2 separate regions of the Homo sapiens genome follow, and region 2 is linked to region 1. The links are contacts of gene promoters, found by promoter capture Hi-C in blood cells and fetal thymus (Javierre and others, 2016). All regions are on one chromosome and are shown on one strand. Each heading gives the region's core, a stretch centred on a gene start or on the middle of the fragment in contact. The rest is flanking DNA. Distances are from core to core; before and after follow the strand shown. Region 1 holds the start of CPA2 (carboxypeptidase A2). Region 2 overlaps COPG2 (coat protein complex I subunit gamma 2).

Region 1 (3,011 bases), core at 489-2,988:
TCCTTAACCCAGCTGTGTATCATGTGCTCTCCCCTGGTTCCCTGTCTAGCTTATATTTTCTTACCACCAGAAATCCAGGCTCTTTTCACATTTGCCTTGGCACAAAGGCTCAGCTCAAACTCCATTTTTTTTTTTTTTTTTTTGAGACGGAGTCTCACTCTGTTGCCTAGGCTGGAGCGCAGTGGTGCCATCTGGGCTCACTGCAAGCTCTGCCTCCCGGGTTCACACCATTCTCCTGCCTCAGCCTCCTGAGTAGCTGGGACTACAGGCTCCCGCCACCACACCCGGCTAACTTTTTGTATTTTTAGTAGAGACGGAGTTTCACCATGCTAGCCAGGATGGTCTCGATCTCCTGACCTCGTGATCCACCTGCCTTGGCCTCCCAAAGTGCTGGGATTACAGGCGTGAGCCACTGAGCCCAGCCTGAAACTTGATTTTTTCCAGGAAGCTTTTATTGATTCTCCAAGTACATACTTCCAGTTTATTGAACTACTGTTTATTTGATAGGTGCTGGAGACATGAGGATGAATTATGGCCTCTGCCTTTTGGTTTCTGTCTTCTCTCTGACTCCCAGGAGAATGAAAAACCAAGTTAATCCAGTCATTCTTAAAATCAGAAACACTGTGTATATACCTTTCCCCTTAAAGCAGATATTTGAGAATGCAAACCCAGAGATTTAAAGTGTGTGCTGATAAATTTGACACACAAAGGACAGACGAAAATTTCCTTGCTGCTTGTTGTGGTTGAGGCTTTCTAGGCTTAATATAACGTGTATGAACAACTAAAATTAAATAAACTATGGTTTCTAAAAATAAGCAGTTATATTTTCTTCTTAAGCAATGAAGAACAAAGTCAGATTAATGTAGATCTATGTTTATGAACAAGAAAAGATCACCTTTGTTTAAAGAACAGTATACGTGATATGGTCTAATCTTTGTTTAAGAAAAAAACTCGAAAGCAGAGAAAGAAATTTGGAAAGACATATGCCAAATGGTTTTCTTTGGATGGAAGAATTATTGATGGTTAAAGAAAACACTTTCTTTTAATTCACACTTTTTATAACAAGCAACTTCATTGTTGCTTGTTATAGGAAATGTCATCAGAAAGACATTTTCATTTTGGGAAAAAGCACAGAAAGAGGGATATCAATTTGGTGCAAATGCAGATGGATCACTTTCGAGAAAGTGCAAAATTGAATATTAAAAGGCCTTCTGTTTTGTTTTAATGTAGAGTGAGGATTGGAATGGGCCACATCTACAGGGACACTCAGCAGATGTGGACTGAGTGACTGCAGTGTTTCAAGGTAAACATTATAAAAATAAACAAATGAGCAAACTAATGGAATGTGATAGACAGGATGCCTGAGTAATTACTATAAATGCTCTGGCCTTTTTTTTGTGTGTGTGTCAGAGACCCAGAAAAGACTTTAACCTCTAGGTCTATTAATCTGGCTTCTATCACAGGGTAGCTAGTGGCGTTTTATGGTCTCAATCATAACTATATTGCCCTTGGTATGCTCTAGCAATTTTGTTCTCTTTCCATCAAAGTTTGTTATCTTATCCTAGGAATGGAACATGTACACATTGGTGATATCACACAGGTGGATGTCTACAACCTTGAGAATTTCACATGCAGGTGGGAATTTTCCCATGTGGGAATTCACGTGAGTTCTCAGAAGGCCAGCAGATCACCCTCAGCTGCCATCCCTACAAATAAAGTTCAGGAAGGACTCTGAATTCTGGACTCCAGGAAAACCCATGGCCATGAGGTTGATCCTGTTTTTTGGTGCCCTTTTTGGGCATATCTACTGTCTAGAAACATTTGTGGGGTAAGTTATGCTTTCTGGTGCTTCTTTGAATTTTACTTACCTGATTGATGGAGGCTTTGATTGTTACAGAGTAAATGGGTATAAGTGTTCAGTGTTTTCAGAGAAGTTCTCTTAGATTTGGGGATAAGTCAATAGTGTGAAAAAAAGGAGTGGATGATCAAAAAGGAGGTGAATGACATTTAAAGGAAAAGACAAAAGTGAAAACTGAACACACATAACCCTATTTCTCTCTGTCCTTACTCATTTTTCCCTCCAGTGATCAGACTGTAGGGATGATAGACATCAGGGAAAATACAGCTGTGTGGCCATTTGTTCCAGGCAACTCAGCGGGTGTCAATGCTACTCTCCCACCTCCTCCTGCTCTTCTGGGCTTTACCATCCACGTTAGCCCTTGTGCCCTAACCCCCGATCTTTAGATTCAGCACCTAGGTGGTGGAACCTCATGAAGTAGAAAGGCCAGGGCTATAGATTTCAGCTCAACTCCTCCTCTCCTGGCTTTGGAGGACTCATCTTTGCTCCAAAGTACTTTGCTTCATGATTCTATGAAGGGTTTCAGGCAGCATTTTTTGAAGAGTGGTCCAGGGAGCTAAGAAAGCAATCAAATAAGTTTGGTCCCAAAAAGCCACTGGTCAAATAAATGTGGGAATCAGAGGATTAAACAAACTATAGGATTTCTAGGAGCCTTGGCTAAATCAGTGTGCATTATAAATCTATAAGAGGGGATCTAGGTTGCAGCATGTACTCTTTTTTTTAATCATAAACTACCTACTGCTCCCAGCTTGCCCTTTCTTTCTTTCTCTTTCTCTTTCTTTCTTTCTTTCTCTTTCTTTCTTTCTTTCTTTCTTTCTTTCTTTCTTTCTTTCTTTCTTTCTTTCTTTCTTTCACTGAGTAACTCAAAGAACTACTATTCTTTAGAACACACACCAGGAAATATGACCCTGTTGTATTACTTTTCTCAGTGCCTTCCCATTTTAAAGGAGGACTCCTGGGAGTCCATGCATTAACCGAAAATAATGAGACTTAAATGGAAGAATTTTCAGACCATTTGTGGCAGGTGAGCCTCGAAGAGCTCACATTCCATCACTTCTGTATTCCACTGGAGTTCGTAGGAAATTGCATGGAGCTTGGTTTCAGAAGACCCATATTCTGGTCCCTGTACATGGCTCATTGTATTGATTCCTTC
Region 2 (3,041 bases), core at 243-2,742, 350 kb after region 1:
ACTAAGAAAAATCAAATTGGTTAACATAAGATCAATTAAAATCTCTCCCATGGAGTTCACCCCTAGCCAATTTCCAATTGTCCCATAATTATCTTAATGCAGCTACTAATTCAACAAATATTTATGGAGCATATTCTTTGTATATGTGCTAAGACTACTGCGTAGAAGACTGTTCTAATTCAAGAATAAAGCAATGAGCAAAATTAGTAAAAAGCAAAAAGTCCTTTGCCTTCATGGAACTTATCATTCTGGGAGGAAGAAAGATAATCACGTAAACAAAACAACCCCTTCCCCATAATTTTAGATACTGATAATTAGCATAAAAGATAAACTAAGGACAATGGTATAAAGCGTCCTAGTCTGACATACCCCCAAATCCTAAAATCCCATCAGACTAGACATAACTTTTAAAAATAAATTAACAAAAATAATTAACTCAAGAGGTATCTCTCTTTGGCATGGCTTTCTAAAATTATCAATGGCTTCAGACCTTTCTGCTGAGCTTCAAAAACAGGCAGAGGTGTGAACTAGCTACAAAATTCCATGTCCATGCTTTAAAGAGGTTTTTAACCTTTTACCCTCCCTTCTTTAGCTCCCCATGCATTTATACTACTGCTATCAATCTCTCCACTTCCTCAACTCCTCTCACATAATCCAAAATGGTCTACAACTCTGACTCCCTCCATTAGGAAACCAAGAGGAAGAAGTTTTGACTGATAGTCCTTCATTTCTTTTTCAATTAGGAAAGCAATTTGGCCAGGTGTGGTGGCTCATGTCTGTAATCCCAGCACTTTGGGAGGTCAAGGTGGGAGGATTACTTGAGCTCAGGAGTGCAAGACCAGCCTGGGAAACATGACTAAACCCCATCTCTACAGATAATACAAAAATTAGACTGGTGTTGTGGGGTGTGCCTGTAGTCTCAGCTACTTGGGAGGTTGAGGTGGGAGGACTGCTTGAACCCAGGAGGCAGAGGTTGCAGTGAGCTGAGATGGCACCACTGTACTCCAACCTGGGTGACAGAGTGAGACCCTGTCTCAAAAAAAAAAAAAAAAAAAGACTTTTTTTGGAAGTGTCCTGCACTTAAAAAATTTTGTAGCGTGGGCATTTTTCCCTGATGCACTCTTTCTGGCTCTGTCAGATGCAAGCTTGGTTTTCCGGATTTCCAAGAGGATCTATGAACTAGATTCTACTGCCAGCAATGGGGAGCCCTGAACAATACACTCGTTCAGTAATTTAAGTGCCAAGGACTATGAATTTTCCTCTGACCATAGCTTTAGTTGAACTCATAGGTTTTCATCATTAGATTTTAAAAATATTCTGTAATTTCAATTTTTACTTATATACTGTCCCAAAAGTTGAGGTTTTCTTTTTATTTTTCCATTTTGACATATCTGGGTACTATCTGTTCATTTTCTTCTCAAAATAAATGTATCATTTGATTGCATTGTAATGACAGAATAAGTCTCTACTATATTTCCACATTCTAGAATTAACAGGTTTTCAGGGGCTGAATGCTGAATAATTTGTAAGTGTTCCATGAATACTTATAAAGGTGACTTTTCTATTATAAAGGTAAGGTTTTCATAAGTATTAATCAATCTGTATCAAGTATATTATTCATATCTTTTTTACCCTTAGGTTTTTCCTTCTTTTTAAAACAAAGGCTGATACTATTTTGTTTCTATTTACATTTTTTGTGATTTTTGGCTTATGTACTTTGGTGTTACATTAATAAATAATTCATGACAGTTCCTCCTCATTTTGGATAAAGTACCTCATTCTTGTCTCCTTCAAAACTTTTTGCATTTAATTCAATTTTCTAATTATTAATACCTTCACCCAAGCTTCCTTTCAGTAGTGTTTGCCTTATATGCTTTCACCCCTCCTTTTATATTCAAATTTTGCTTTGCCTTGTTTTATATACATCACAATATGTAGCATATAGTTAGCTGTATTTTATTTTTAAACTAATCTGTATTTCTTTTAATAGGCAATGTCTGGTGTTAATTCTATGAATTTGTTTTGTGTTACATCTCTATTTTTAGTACTTTCTTTGTTTCCTATAAGGCAGTGTTATCCAACAGAACTTTTTTCAATGATGGAAAATGTTCCATCATTCAGCATAGTAGCCACAAGCTAAATGTGTCTAATGAGCACTTGAAATATAGCTAGTGTGACTAATGAACTGAATTTTCAATTTTACAAAAGTTCAATTAATGTTCACTATAATAGCCATATGTATCTAATGGCTATCTTATTGGACAATACAGATGTAAGAGTGTCTTTTGTTTTCCTAAGTGAATGTGTTTTCTCTCTGAAATATGGGAGATTTACATTCTAGTTCTTTTTGTCGCTGCCATAAAACTTTAGATAAAAGAGTTAAGCTATGAAAGCAAAAAAATTAATGCACGTAAGCTTTCTCCTCTCTCATCTGCCCTCCCGTGTATCTCCAAATTTTTGTTAGTATTATTCTTTTTGTATTATCATGGATTATAACATTTACATTCTATCTTTAATCATAATTTCTACAGTAGTTTAACCCTACTTCTATAATTGAATACATTCAATGCTCACTGGTAATTCATTTCCTGTAGCCCCTCTATTACAGAATTCACTCTTTTGATTTAATATAACTTCAATGCTTAATTTTATTTTTCAAGAAAAGCTCACAGGTGTTATGGTCCCTGAATTCTTTCCAGTGTGGAAGTCTGCTTGTTGTCCCTGTACTTGAATGACAATTCGCTTAGCTGTATTATTCTTGTATCACATGTTCTGTTTCTTAAAACTTTGCAGATACTGTCCCCATTCTTTTCTGACACTGAAAACTGCCATGAATGGCTGAAGTCGGACTTAGTTTTTCTCACTTTTAAATGACTAGCTTTTTCTGCCAGAAGTCTTAAAAATTACTTGTTTCTCTCCACAGTACAAGTTAACCAAGATGCATGTTGGTGTCAGTCATTCTGTTACAATTTTTATTGGAATACAGTATGCTATTTTAATATGTAGATTTATTTTAATACGTAGCTATGTTTTTAAAAGTT

The links. Contacts are between HindIII fragments. The CHiCAGO score rates a contact against its expected background, and 5 or more counts as called.
Region 2: a contact is called between a fragment that was not itself captured here and the fragment with the promoter of CPA2 in region 1, in 5 of 17 cell types (M0 macrophages, M2 macrophages, endothelial precursors and 2 more). The highest score is 7.5, in M0 macrophages.

What each region holds. Positions count from the first base shown.
Region 1 is chr7:130,265,125-130,268,135 of GRCh38, forward strand. CPA2 (carboxypeptidase A2) reads left to right here and starts at 1,739. Exons shown (of 11, transcript NM_001869.3): 1 at 1,739-1,828. The coding sequence starts at 1,758. The HindIII fragment of the contact is 5,023 bases long and covers 447-3,011 here.
Region 2 is chr7:130,617,065-130,620,105 of GRCh38, forward strand. COPG2 (coat protein complex I subunit gamma 2) reads right to left here. Exons shown (of 24, transcript NM_012133.6): 6 at 1. Among named protein-coding and RNA genes, the nearest start is that of COPG2, 50 kb to the right of the region's middle. The HindIII fragment of the contact is 699 bases long and covers 1,144-1,842 here.